Linked DNA regions of Homo sapiens: region 1 is linked to region 2. Evidence: promoter capture Hi-C in human tissues and cell types (Jung and others, 2019). All regions are on one chromosome and are shown on one strand. Each heading gives the region's core, a stretch centred on a gene start or on the middle of the fragment in contact. The rest is flanking DNA. Distances are from core to core; before and after follow the strand shown. Region 1 has its middle 34 kb from the start of EFNA2. Region 2 holds the start of RPS15 (ribosomal protein S15).

Region 1 (7,237 bases), core at 2,792-5,291, 120 kb before region 2:
CAGGCAGGCTGAGGTCTGCATGGTCAGGGCGGCCTCAGGTGCTGGGGAGCCACCCTGGCTGGACCTAGGGTCCCAGCTTCACGTTCACCTCCTGGAGCCTCAGGTCTGGGTCTGATGCCCCAACGGGAACCCCAAGCCCTGCCCACCGCCCGTCCTCACCTCTGCTGCCCCTTCACTGCCCCGACCAGTGGCTTCCGCCATAACCCTCTTGGGAGACCCATTTTTCATAGGAGGAAACTGAGGCACAGAGCGTTTTCTCGGTCACAGAACAGCTGGATCCCTCCTGTGTGATGAGCACCTCTGGGTCCTCCTGTGTCGTGACCACACCTGTGTCCACTTTCTGGGTCCTGGGCTGCAGAATGTCACCGCCCCAAATACCCTCTCGTGGGTGCTGTGGTTGGTTTCCTTGGCCTTGGGAGGGTCCTTTCTACTCAGGTAGGGATACCGTCTGGGTTCCCCCCCTACTGCCCCTGCAAGGCAGGGCTGGTGATCCGTGTGCACCCTGGGGGCCGTCTCATGTGTGGCTGCACCTTCCCACACCACGGCTGAGGAGAGGATCCTACCCACAGGTGCCCCTGGTGGGTTCAGCCGGCCCCTGCCGCGGGATCCTGCTTGATTTCTGGTACTCCAGGCCTCGCCACTGTCATTCCCGCTGGGCATGATGCGCACCTGCTGTGCCATGCTCTTGGGCAGCTCTCTGGGGTCACGGAAACTTCTGTGCCTCAGTTGCCTCCTCTGGAATGTGCAAATCCTTCGAGAAATAAGCTGGAAGACCTGGGAGCAAGCAGGCTTGGGTTTCCAGGTTTGGGGGGGGGGTGCCCAGATACAACCCCAAGGCTTTGGGAGGTGAGGGGACACCCTGCTGCTCCATCTGGACCCGCGCCCGTGAGCTCTGCTGCTCTGCGCCTGACCCACAGCTCTGTCCACTTGCCCCATATGGGTTCAAGGCACCAAGAATCAAGAATCCAGCCCTCTGGGCTGGATGCGGACACGGTGGCTCACGCCTGTAATCCCAGCACTTTGGGAGGCTGAGGCGGGTGGATCACCTGAGGTTAGGAGTTCAAGACCAGCCTGGCCAACGTAGTGAAACCTCATCTCTACTGAAAATGCAAAAATTAGCCAGGTGTGATGGTGTGGGCCTGTAATCCCAGCTACTCAGGAGGCTGAGGTAGAAGAATTGCTTGAACCTGAGAGAGGGAGGTTGCATTGAGCCGAGATATCGTGCCACTGCACTTTAGCCTGGGGGATAGAGTGGGAGGGATCGATCCAGCCCTCTTTCATCCCCTTCCCGCTCACTCCGACCCAACCTCCCAGTTCTGTCTTTAAAACAAGCTGCTTTTGTCTCTGCCCCAGGGCCTTTGCACGGGCTGCTCCATCCCTGCATGTGGCCAGCCCAGCAGCTCCCTCACTGCCCACCTGTGGCCGGCTGCATCCCTCCAATCTTCAGACACCCATTTTTTTTTCTTTTTCTTTTCTGTTTTATTTTTTTTGAGATGGTGGGGGTGGTCTCGGTATGTTGCCCAGGCTGGTCTCCAACTCCTGAGCTCAAGTGATCCTCCCACCTCGGTCTCCCAAAGTGCTGGGATCACAGGCATGAGCCACCTCGCCTGGTCTTGACACTTATTTTCATGTTCAGTTTGACCATATTTGTGACAAGTCAGAGACGATACAGCAAGGGGAAGAAGACACGTTCCCTTCCCTCTAGAAAGTCACAGTCACGCACAGAAGGCAGAAGGCTTGCAGTGCACAGCGACGGGATAAAGGAACCAGCTCTGCAACAGAGTGAGTGGCTCTGAGCTTTTGATCATTGAGATATAATTCACAGACCATGAGGTTCACCTGCTTAAAGCACTGAGCTATAACTCGCGGACCATGAGGTTCACCTGCTTAAAGGTGTAATCCAGTGGCTTTTAGCGTACTTGCAGAGTTGTGCAAACCTCACCTCTCTCTAGTTCCAGAACGTTCTCATCACCCCAGAAGGAAACCCCATCCCCATTAGCCATTGCTCCCCATCCCCACCCCAGCCCTGGCACCCAGGCATCCCCTCTCTGCCTCTGTGGGTTGGCCTGTCCTGGACACTTCATAGAAATGAGATCACAGACTGGGTGTGGTGGCTCACATGCCTGTACTCCCAGCACTTTGGGAGGCCGAGGTGGGTGGGTCACCTGAGGTCAGGAGTTCAAGACCAGCCTGGCCAACATGGTGAAACCCCGTCTCTACTAAAAATACAAATAAATTAGCCGGGCGTGGTGGTGGGCGTCTGTAATCCCAGCTACTCAGGAGGCTGAGGCAGGGAGAATTGCTTGAACCTGGGAGGCAGAGGTTTCAGTGAGCCAAGATTGTGCTGCTGCTGTCCAGCATGGGCAACAGAGCAAGACTCTGTCTCAAAAAAAAAAAAGAAAACTGAAACTCAGACAGCGACCCTCCTCTGCCTCAGTCCTGCGGTGGCTCCATGTGCCCCAGGATTAACGCACACTCCCCGGCCTGGCGGCACACTTTGCTGGGCACGGGGCGAGACCAGAAGAACCCAAAGAGGCCAGAGGGTCCCAGCTCAGCGAGGAGTGGGAGGTGCTTCCTTCTACCCAGATAAGAGCCTGGGAGAGCTGGGAGAGTGGGAAGTGGGGTCGCCCCGATTTTCCAGGGCAGGAAACCAAGGCTGGGGCCTTGGGCTAACACCCACGTCAGGCCCCGGGTCTCGCTGCCCAGAGGCTCCGGTGAGTGAAGCTCCTGGCAGCGTGCACCTGCGCCCGCCGGACCCGCCTCCCACCTGCCATTCCTGCCGGGGAGGGAAGGGCCACTGTGGGCGGCTCAGGGCCCCCACCGCTGTTTCCGGGCTCTTGGTGGGGTGGGGAGGGCCGCTGTCAGAGACCCCCTGAGACCCTCGGGAACACTGCCTGCCTAATGAGGATCCCTGGGGCCTCTGCCCAGTTCGGGCCGGGGAATAAAGGCCTCCTCTTCCATTCCGCTGTTTCTCCGCCCCCCGCCGTAATAGGATTGAGACTTTTGAAGTTAATAGGAAATGAGGCAGGCTCCCACGTACAGAATGCGGACGCGGAGGGCTTAGAGGGCCCTTTGTGAGCCCGGCCGGGCGGCTCCCCCCGCCGGCCGGCCGTGATGAAAGCACCGTGAAATATACAGTGGCAGGACGCCCCTTGACCCTGACAGGCCTCTTAAAGAAAAGAAGGGGGGAAAATCCCCCAGCAGTTGTACATGTGCATGTGAACACACGTGTGTGTGTATGCAGCGCTCTGGCCCGGCCGGCCACTGGGACGCTGTCTGCACGGCGCCCACGCGGGGCCTCGGCTCAGCCAGGAGGGTTGGGGATCATTCCAGCAGCCAGGAGTTTGGGTTTTTTTTTTTTTTTTTTTTTTTTTTTTTTTTTTTTTGAGACAAGAGTTTTGCTCTTGTTGCCCAGGCTGGAGTGCAGTGGCGCGATCTCGGCTCACTGCAACCTCCGCCTCCCAGGTTCAAGCTATTCTCCTGCCTCAGCCTTCCTGAGTAGCTGGGATTATAGGCATGCGCCACCATGCCCGGCTAATTTTGTGTTTTTAGTAGAGATGGGGTTTCTCCATGTTAGTCAGGCTGGTCTCGAACTCCCGACCTCAGATGATCCGCCTGCCTCGGCCTCCCAAAGCGCCGGGATTACAGGCATGAGCCACCGTGCCCGGCCTGTTTGTTTTTTTTTTGAGATGGAGTCTCTGTCACCCAGGCTGGAATGTAGTGGCGCAATCCCTGCTCACTGCCACCTCTGCCTCCCAGGTTCAAGCGATTCTCCTGCCTCAGCCTCCCAAGTAGAGTAGCTGGGATTACAGGCACCTGTCACCATACCCAGCTAATTTTTTTTTTTTGTATTTTAGTAGAGACGGGGTTTTGCCATGTTGGCCAGGCTGGTCTCGAACTCCTGACCTCAAGTGATCCACCCACCTTGGCCTCCCAAAGTGCTGGGATTACAGGCTCGAGCCACTGCGCCCAGCTGAGTTTGGGGTTTTGGATGCTGGGCCTGAGAGTCAGAGGCCATTCATCACTCAGGGCAGACAGCCCCACCCAAGGCTCGGTCTTCTCTACTAACACACCTCCAGAGACGGCAGGCTTACCACTTAGCAAGACTCCTAGACAAGGCTTCTTTGCGTGTGGCTCCAGAGGAAGGTGAAGATGACACCTTTCAATGTCACTAAGGAAAAGTGACAAGGGACAGAAGGGAAGGCAATTTTTTTTTTTTGAGACATGGTCTCACTCCCATTGCCCAAGCTGGAGTTCAGTGGTTCTGTATCACCTCATTGCAGCCTCCACCTCCTGGGCTCAAGTGATCCTCCCATCTCATTTTTTCATTTTTTTGTAGAGATAGGGTCTCACTACATTGCCCAGACTGGTCTCGAACTCCTGGGCTTAAGGGATCCTCCCACCTCAGCCTCCCAAAATGTTGGGATTACAGGCGTGAGCCACCGCTCCTGCCTCAGCCTCCACAGTAGCTGGGATTACAGGTGCCTGCCACCATGCCCAGCTAATTTTTGTATTTTTGGTAGAGACAGGGTTTCATCATGTTGGCCAGGCTGGTCTCAAATTCCTGACCTCAGGTGATCTGCCCGCCTCAGCCTCCCAAAGTGCTGGGATTACAGGTGTGAGCCACTGCGCCCGGCCCAAGAAGGCAATTTCTAAAACAGCTTTATTGAGTTATTCACATAGCATACAGTTCATTCATTTAAAGTATACAATTTTTTTTTCTTTGTATTTTTAGTAGAGATGGGGTTTCACCATGTTAGCCAGGCTGGTCTCAAATTCCTGACCTCAGGTGATCCACCCGCCTCGGCCTCCCAAAGTGCTAGGATTACAGGCAAGAGCCACCACGCCCAGCCTAAAGTATACAATTTCTTTCTTTCTTTTTTTTTTTTTGAGACAGAGTCTCGCTCTGTCGCCCAGGCTGGAGTGCAGTGGCAGGATCTCGGCTCACTGCAAGCTCCGTCTCCTGGGTTCACACCATTCTCCTGCCTCAGTCTCCTGAGTAGCTGGGACTACAGGCGCCTTCCACCACGCCTGGCTATTTTTTTTTTTTTTTTTTTTAATTAGAGACAGGGTTTCACGGTGTTAGCCAGGATGGTCTCAATCTCCTGACCTCGTGATCCACCCACCTCGGTCGGCCTCCCAAAGTGCTGGGATTATAGGTGTGAGCCACCGTGCCCTGCCTTGATTTCTTTTATTGTCTTCATAAAGCTGTGTGTCCATCAACCCAATCAACTTTAGAACATTTCCATCATTCCAAAAGGAAACCCCGTTCCCTCCCCAGCCCTGGCACCCACACTTCCCCTCCCTGTCTCTGTGGATCTGCCTGCCCTGGACATTTCATAGAAATGGGATTGCACACCTGTGGCCTTCTGTGTCTGGCGTCTCTCACTGAGTGTGGCGTCCTCAGGATGCATCTGCGCTGTGGCCTGGGTCAGAGCCTCGCTCCTTTTCACGGCTCAGTCGTGTTCCAGTGGGCAGAGGGCCATGCCGTGTTTGCCCATTCTTGTGTTGATGGACATTTGGGCTGTTTCAGACGTTTCTGAGTGTGTAGGGAATGCTGTTCTTGCCAACTCTTCCAGTGGCCCTGGATTTGGGCCTTTGACCCTCACAGAAGGCCAAGCAGAGGCTGGGCAGGTCCCACCAAGGCCAGAAGCAGAGGGCGTGTTCCCCAGCAGGGCCTGGTGTTTGGAGCATGACACATGGAAACAGCTTCCAGGCATGACCCTGTGTCTCCCAGCTGGCCCTGCCACTTCTGGAGGTGACCCTGCCACCCTGTGACTCTGTTTCTCCGTCGGCAAAGGCGGCGGTGATGGGGACTCTGTGGTGGCAGCTATTGTCAGGCAGCATGGCAGCTGCACACGGGGGCTCGCCCATGTGAGGGAGGCTTTCCGCAGGTGGTCCCTGTCCCTGTCCCTGTTCGCATGGTCCTGCAGACGGCCGTCTCACCCCCATACCACTGGCGTTGGAGGGCAGATTGGGCGTGAGGAGAGGGTGAATCTGTGTCCAGGGCTCCCCAGTTTTCCGTTCAGACCCGTGGGGAGGCGACTTTCCCGCTGTGGGCTCCAGCATCGGGAGGGGTGGTCTGTGTGGAGTGACGTGTGGCCCTGTCCCCGCTACGAGAAATCCCGGGGAAAGGAGGGGTGAAGGGGGCGGGAGGGGGTTCCTGGAATCTGGCTGAGCTTGGGTGGCACCCAAGGATGCCTGCAGCCCGCCCAGTGGCACGGGAAGCCCCCTCACCCGCTGGCTGGAAGGGGTGGGAGGCAAGTGGCAGGAGGCAGGTGGATGGGTTGCCTGTTCTTCCCTGGGGGCGCCAGGGGAAGACCTGTCCCTGCCAGAGCACCGCGGCTGGCAGCCCCCAGCCCTTTGGTGGCAGCTATGCCCTGGGGTGGGCAGGGTGATGCGTAGGTCATCTGCCCCTGTGGTGGGCCCAGCGCCCTCCTGTCTTCTCAGACCCTCCAGAGGAGGCAAAGGAGGTCTCTCAGGCAGAGCGAGAACATGTCATTCCTTCAGGGACAGCAGAACCACCACAGGTACTGCCCACCTGGGTCAGACATCAGAGGGACAGAGACAGAGAGACAGAGACAGTCAGAGACAGAGAGACAAAGGGAGACAGAGAGAGACAGACGCAGGCAGACAGAGTCAGAGATGGAGGGAGGAAGAGACGGAGAGACAGTGACAGAGACAGAAGGAGACAGAGACAGAGAGACAGAGACAGAGGGAGACAGAGAGACAGAGATGGGGGAGACAGACAAAAACAGAGAGACAAAGACAGAGACAGAGGGAAACAGAGAGAGGGAGAGACAGAAATAGAGATAAACAGAGACAGAGAGGGAAGGAGACAGAGAAAGAGACAGAGAGACAGAGGGAGACAGAGATAGATCGAGTCGGACAGAGACAGAGAAAGAGACACAGAGAGACAGAGGGATACAGAGATACAGCAAGTCGGAGAGAGACAGAGAGACATGGGGAGACAGAGGCAGCGCAGGGGCGGCTGTGCAGGGCGATGGGCCGAGGGCTCCATCCCGGCCTTCCTGGCCCCTGGGCCCCCCGCCTCCCAGCTGTGACTGGCCTGCTCTGGCCTTGGGCTCCGCCTGACTTTTCTGGGTTTGGGGTTGAGGGTGCAGGAGGCCCTGGCAGGGCAGGACTCTGGGTCCCCAGGGGCCGCCTCACCATCCTGCCCCCGGGGTCACAGAACTTGGGCATCTCCCCATCAGTGGGCGACACGGGCCCAGCAGGG
Region 2 (7,142 bases), core at 4,643-7,142:
ACCTCTGCAGGTTTTGGCTACGGGCCTCCACCTCCACCGCCAGATCAGTTTGCCCCTCCGGGGGTTCCTCCTCCACCAGCCACTCCCGGGGCAGCACCTCTGGCTTTCCCACCGCCTCCGTCTCAGGCTGCCCCGGACATGAGCAAGCCCCCGACAGCTCAGCCAGACTTCCCCTATGGTCAGTATGGTAAGTGGTCTCCTGCCATGCCGCGTCCCCGCTGGCCCCAGGACCCTGGGCACGGCCTGCCTTCTTCTGCTTCCTCCCCTGCTGGACGCTCCCCAGCCTTTACCTGGTGGGAAAGGGGAGAGGGAGGAGAGGGGGGTGTGGGGGTTGTTGGAGAGATCTCGTGGCAACTCGGGTCCAGCAGAAGGGAGCGTGGGAGTCTTGTCGCAGCAGAGCACTCGTCATACAGCAGGTGCTGCAGGGCCTGCATGTGTGGGAACCTGAGTGGCGACTGGGTCGAGGGAAGTGAGTCGCAGGCAGCTGTGATCACTGTCTAGAGGTTCAGGCCCTCGGTGTGGGTCCCGGGTGCACTGGCCCCTTGGTGGGTTCCAGTTTCTGGCGTCATCAGCCTCCTGCTGGGTCCAGACCCCGCTTGGGGCAGAAGCTGGGTCTGTAGTAGGCGTGGCCTGGACGTGGGCTTCACCCTGGACTGGATGGCTGTCGTGGCTTGGGTCTGCCTGGACGTGATCTGCAGGCAGCGCATGTGCTTCCGGGGCAGGAGCTTGTGGGGGGGCGGGGTCAGCATGGGTCAAGGTCTGCATGTCAGTAGTTCTCGCCCTGCACTGAGCCAGGAGTCACAGCAGCCTTGCTCAGGACCAACGCGGTGGCCTCAGTGGGCAGGGCTCCAACTACGGTCAGCTCCTCCAGCACCAGGGGTCATTCACAAGCAGGGTTTGAGAACATGGGGCACCTGTCTGCAGGTGGCCACGGGCTTCCGGGGTGCCTGTGAACACGCTTCCTCTAGGCCTGGTGGAGGCCGGGGTGTGGGAGCTGTGTTCGGCCGAGGTGCCCGCCCACCCACCTCGCATGGCTGTGGTTCCCCTGCCCCCACGCCCAGGCCTTGGGCCGAGGTTGCCGCATGTGTGGGTTCTTGACCCACTCACCACCAAACCCTGGCGTGTCTGAGACTGGCAGGGGGGTGTGAGGCGCCCGGTTGGGGCGTGGCGTGTGTCAGCCGCTGCTCTTGGTGGCGGCTGCTTGGGTTGGTCACCCTGGTCTCGTCTCTTGCCAGGCCTGGGTTCCTATTCTCCAGCCCCGCCGGGCTGCGGCCCACACTTTGTTTACAGTCTTATGGTCAGGCTGAGCAGTGATGTGGCCTAGGTAGGTGCCGCCTCCTTCTCCAGGGTCCTCCCACCCGCCTGCACCGGGAGGTGGACGTGGCTTCCTCTGCCGTCCCGGGCGGGGGTGGACGCTGGCGGTGCCCTCTGGGAAGGGGCCCTTGCCGGTGCCAAGACATTGGCCACAAGCCTTCAGCGGGCCCAGGATCCCCCAGAGAGAGCCCACGCCCACCTGTGCCCACGTGCACCCGAATGGGAACCCAGAGGTCGTGGGAGGGGCTTCCTGCAAGGTGTGCAGCGGGGTGGGGAGCGGCGTGAGCAGCTCTGTCCTTGTAAAGACACCGCTGTCCATGCTCCTGAGGTCGGCTGTGTGGGCCGGACGGGCTGCAGGGTGTGCTGGCCCCTCAGCCAGTGGTGTCACTGGGGCAGTCAGGTTGGGCCCAGAAACCCTTCCCTGACACGTGCCACCGATGGACGTGCCCTGACAGGAAGGACAACGTGGGGTCTGGTCTGCGACGGAGGGGCAGGCCCTGTATCGCTGCAAGGGCCCGTCAGGGGTTTTCTGAAACTCCGAGAGCCAGCTTTCTAGAAGCCTGGTCCACCGTGCCTTGGGCCATGTGTGTCTCCAAGCCCCGAGGCTTCTCTACCTCCCCTCACCCCCCCAACCACGTCTTCGGGATTGAACAGGGAAGCGGTGAGGTTACGTGGGCCATGGAGGGCTCTGGAAGCCGCTTTTCTCTGTGTGTGCCCCTGCTCACATGTTTTTGAGGGAGAGAACATGCCCGGGGTCCTCTCCCCGGCCCAGGTGCTGGCCTCAGAAGGGCCCCACCCGCACCCCGTGGGACCCGTGGACTCAAGGCAGGCTCGGCGGAGCTGTGTCCAGGTGGCCTCGCTCGACGGCAGTGCCAACCGCCCAGGGACCGCCCCGAGCTCACAGGACTTTCTCCCCCAGCAGGTTACGGGCAGGACTTGAGTGGCTTCGGACAGGGCTTCTCAGACCCCAGCCAGCAGCCTCCTTCCTACGGGGGTCCCTCCGTGCCAGGGTCGGGGGGCCCCCCCGCCGGCGGCAGCGGCTTTGGACGAGGGCAGAACCACAACGTGCAAGGGTTCCACCCCTACCGACGCTAGCCCGCGGCGCCGCGACGTCTGCACGGCCCAGACCCAGGATTCCAAACTTGTGAACTCGTGACAATCACAAACTTGGCGGCAAAGTGGCGACTCAACCTTGGGGGGGGGGGCGGGGGGAGGGCGCGAGGCTTTTGGAGCGGCTGTGGGTGTCGTCTGGACTGAGGTTTTTAAATATTTCTTTCTCTAACCCATCAGCACAATAAAAAAAAGTCACTGGTTCAACAACAGGGTTTAAAAAAAATGTCTTCAGCTTTAATTCAAAACTTCAGGTTTCTTTTTCTTCCTTTTTTTTGGAAATTATTTTCCTGAGCCTTTTGTTTTACGGTATATTGTAAACTTTTATGTTAAAGAAAAAATATACATTTACAAATTGTGAGATTTTTAAGAGAAATTTTCTACGATGTATACTGGCTTATTTTTTAATTTAAAACGGGGTTTCCGTCGGCACTGGTGGAGGGGGTGCGCTGTTAGTCCCCTCGCTCCTGGCTTTGGGGGTTGGGACTTGGTGGTCCAGAAACTCTGGGAGCTTCTAGAAGAAATCTACTGAGTGTATTTCTGTTTTTTGTTTAATTCCTTGCTTTTGTCGACTGACCTGCTTGGTAGTGTCTGAGGTGAACTGTGGGGGTTGCGCACAGCCAGCCGCGTGGATCCCACGCAGCGCTGAACCGAACCGAGTAGGAAGCCTTTCTCCCCAGGCACGTGGCTTCAGGGCGTTTCCCATTGACCAGTTTGACCCTGGTTTGAATAAAGAGAAGTGCGTTTGGATTAGAAACCACTTTGTGTCCGTTTTTTCCCTCCTTGGTCTTGGCCTGTGCCTACCCTTCCAGTGCCTAGGAAAGGTCTGAAACGCGACGGAGGCGCCCTCGCCCTCCCCTTGGCTCTTGGTGGTCTCAGCAACCCCGAGGGCTTCAGGGCAGAGGCTGAGTGGCGAGCTGGGCCCATCCCTCAGTGGGTCTTGGGATGCTGTGACTTTGAGGATGTGGCCACCACCAGTTTTCTCGGGGAATGTGGGCTCCAGGCTTTTCCCATCTCAAGACCTTTAATCATATCTTTTGCCATGGAAGGTGACATATCCCCAGGTTCTGGGGATTAGGACAGGGGCATCTTTGGAAAGGGATACTCTGTCACTGTGGCAGGGAAGGCGAGACTTAAAAAGGGCCGGGCGCGGTGGCTCACGACTGTAATCCCAGCACTTTGGGAGGCCGAGGCGGGCGGATCACCTGAGGTCGGGAGTTCGAGACCAGCCTGACCAACATGGAGAAACCCCGTCTCTACTAAAAATACAAAAATTAACCGGGTGTGGTGGTGCATGCCTGTAATCCCAGCTACTTGGGAGGCTGAGGCAGAAGAATCGCTTGAACCTGGGAGGCGGAGCTTGCAGTGAGCCGAGATTGCGCCATTGCACTCCAGCCTGGGCAACAAGAGCGAAACTCCGTCTCAAAAAACAAAACAAGAAAAAAAAAGGACCATGAAGTCCCAAACTGGAAGCCTACAGCGTGCCAGGCGTGAGACTGTTCAGGCGACAGCCAGAACCACCCCCCCCCGCCCCAGTTCATATTTTGGGGACAGGGAAGGTTTGACTTAGTTTGGAGAGAACCAAGAGAAGGGGTACCCCCAACATCCCTGTGCAGTGCAGTTTCCTCACTGAGACAGTACCCCTCAACGCCTCAGCCCAGGAAGCCAGCTCCATTCCCTGCCGTCAGAGCCTTCTCCCATGTCCTCAGGAGCTGCTGCCCCAGCTCCCAGGAGGGCCAGGCGGGGGCGGCTGTCTATCCACACCACAGGTCATCATGGTGTTGAGTGTCAGCCCCTCCCGTTACATTAGCTCCCCCAGCCAAAGAGCAGCACTCACAAAATCAGCTTTCCAGCCAGGACACTCTGCTGCAGGAAAATGGGTAACATGGACGGGCCCGACACATAGGTCCTGTGCTCCTCGGGACGGAGACTCAGCCCTCCCTGAGTACAGTGTAATTGGCTTCCCTTGGGACTGTGGGGACGGCTGGGGAGAGCTCAGCTCCCTGGACAGTGCCACAGCTAAGCTCGGGTTCCCAGAGGTTTTGTGCTTTTTTTTTTTCTTTTTCTTTTTTTTTTTTTTTTTTTTTTTTGAGAAGGAGTCTCTGTCGCCCAGGCTGGAGTGCAGTGGTGCGATCTCAGCTCACTGCAACCTCCGCCTCCCGGGTTCAAGCGGTTCTCCTGCCTCAGCCTCCCAAGGAGCTGGGATTACAGGCACCCACCACCACGCCTGGCTAATTTTTTGTATTTTTAGTAGAGTTAGGGTTGGTCAGCTTGGTCTTGAACTCTTGACCTCAGGTGATCCGCCCGCCTCGGCCTCCCAAAGTGCTGGAATTACAAGCATAAGCCACCACGCCCAGCCAGGTGCCACATCCATAGTTAATAGTCACCTTCAACTTTATACTTAATTCCAGTAAGATACAGAAACATCACTCCTAGGCCAGGCGCGGTGGCTCACGCCTGTAATCCCAGCACTTTGGGAGGCCAAAGCGGGTGGATCACCTGAGGTCAGGAGTTCGAGACCAACATGGCCTGGCCAACATGGAGAAACCGTGTCTTTACTAAAAATACAAAATTAGCCGGGCACGGTAACAGGTGCCTGTAATCCCAGCTACTTGGGAGGCTGAGGCAGGAGAATCGCTTGAACCCAGGAGGCAGAGGTTGCAGTGAGCCGAGATCACACCACTGCACTCCAGCCAGGGCAACAAGAGTGAAACTCTGTCTCAAAAAAAAAAAAAAGTCACTCCTACATAGTTCTAGTTACTCCTTCTCTTTGAGCTATCATTATTCACATTACATTTACATATCTTAACAAACCCAGTGATATTCCTAACTTTATTTTTGAGGCAGGGTCTTGCTCTGTCGCCCAGGCTGGAGTGCCGTTGGCGCGATCACGGCTCACTGCAGCCTTGACCTCCTGGGCTGAAGGCTCAGCCTCCCGAGTAGCTGGGAATTTTTTGTACTTTTTATTCTTTTATGTCCGTGTGTACACAAATTTTTGTATTTTTTTGTAGAGAGGCAGTCTCACTGTGTTGTCCTTACTAACTTTATATACAAAATTTTATCTGTTAAAGCCGGAATGGTTCTTTTCAGCGAGGCCCTGTCCCTGCTCCAGTATCTGTAATGAATTCTCGTGTTCCTCCCACAGTGGGACCTGAACCGCCAAACCGCACCTACGAGCAAACGGTAGGCGCTCCATAAATACTTGTTGATGTGGGTGCCATCGTGTAGATGACGGAGCACGAACCCGAGGCTCAGACAGGGGCGGCGACTTGTCCAAAGTCCCACTCCGTGGAGGAAGCGGCTCTGCAGACCTCAGGCGGCGGCTGCTCTAATCCCTGCAGCCTGTGTTTTGCCCTCCAGACGGCAGAGGGCGCGTGTTCGCCGCCGGGAAAGCGGAAGCGCGTGTGCGCGCACGGCCGAGGGGGCGGGACATGCCGGCAGTCTCGCGATAACTGCGCAGGCGCGGACCAAAGCGATCTCTTCTGAGGATCCGGCAAGATGGTGAGTGTTGCGATTTGGCGCGTCTCTGCCGGGCCTATCCGGCTCCATCCAACCTCTGACCGTCTCGCGGGGGCCGCAGTTCGTCCCCGCGGCTACGGCGGCTTGCTCCCGACCCTGCAGGCGGCTGGATGTTGGGGCGAGGGGCGGACTTGGTGGGTGTCGGGACGACGCGGGGCTGGGAAGGCCTGTCCGGGCCTTCATGTCCGGGTCCTCGTAACCCGGAGCCGCGAGTGATCCCCGGGGACGGGTCGAAGCGGTGTGTCCCTGTCGGGCTTCTGTCCCCGGCGGCGCCGCGCGTCTTCCGCGGTGTCCTCGGGCCCGGTGGCCCCGGGAGATGGGTGTCGGGATCCCGCTGACGCCCGATCCGCGCCCGCACAGGCAGAAGTAGAGCAGAAGAAGAAGCGGACCTTCCGCAAGTTCACCTACCGCGGCGTGGACCTCGACCAGCTGCTGGACATGTCCTAGTAAGGGCGGCCGCGGGGGTCGCGGGCAGGGGCTGGGCCAGCGGTGGGGCTTGTCCGGGTGAGGGCGGCGGGGCGGGGGTCCAAGCGCCTCTGCGGCGGTGGGCGGGCACGGTCTCCGCGCGGGTTTGGAACTGAGTGTGGTCTTGCGCCCAGAAAACTGTCCAGAGACGTTGAGGTTTTTGCTTATTTGCAACCTGCCCCCCGTTGTTCACTTTTCCGCGGCTTAGTTGGAAGGTGTAGCCCCTGTCTGTAGCCCACGTGACTTAGAATAAGGGGCTGCGTTAGACTCCTTAGATTTTAAGGGCGGTGGAGGTCGCTGGGTCCTTTCCAGGCAGGGTGGTGGTGGGCATCTGGCTTGCGCTTTTATTTTTTAATTTTTGATTATTTTGAGGCGGAGTCTCATCCTGTCGCCCAGGCTGGAGTGCAATGGCTCCGTCCCAGCTCACTGCAGCCTCCCACTCCCGGGTTCAAGCGATTCTCTTGCCTCAGCCTCTCGAGTAGCTGGGATTAGAGGGCCCCCCCACCACGTCCGGCTAATTTTTGTATTTTTAGTAGAGACGAGTTTCAGTGTTGCCCAGGCTGGTCTCAAACTCCTGACCTCAGGTGATCCACCTGCCTCGGCCTCCCAAAGTGCTGGGATTACAGGCGTGAACACCGCGCCCGACCTTGATTTTTGATTATTTGTGGAAACAGCGTTTCTCTGTGTCGTCCAGGTTGGTCTTGAACTCCTGGGCTCAAGCGACCCTCCCGCCT

What was found. Contacts are between HindIII fragments. The study calls those that stand out against the background at their distance.
Region 1: a contact is called between a fragment that was not itself captured here and the fragment with the promoter of RPS15 in region 2, in 2 of the 25 tissues and cell types used here (dorsolateral prefrontal cortex and small bowel).

Annotation. Positions count from the first base shown.
Region 1 is chr19:1,316,097-1,323,333 of GRCh38, forward strand. No RefSeq gene overlaps it. Among named protein-coding and RNA genes, the nearest start is that of EFNA2, 34 kb to the left of the region's middle. The HindIII fragment of the contact is 8,009 bases long and covers 38-7,237 here.
Region 2 is chr19:1,432,504-1,439,645 of GRCh38, forward strand. RPS15 (ribosomal protein S15) reads left to right here and starts at 5,893. Exons shown (of 4, transcript NM_001018.5): 1 at 5,893-5,925; 2 at 6,304-6,389. The coding sequence starts at 5,923. DAZAP1 (DAZ associated protein 1) reads left to right here. Exons shown (of 12, transcript NM_018959.4): 11 at 11-187; 12 at 2,234-3,181. The coding sequence ends at 2,409. RefSeq lists enhancers at 1,758-2,261, 5,638-6,508, 5,917-6,136. The HindIII fragment of the contact is 20,902 bases long and covers 1-7,142 here.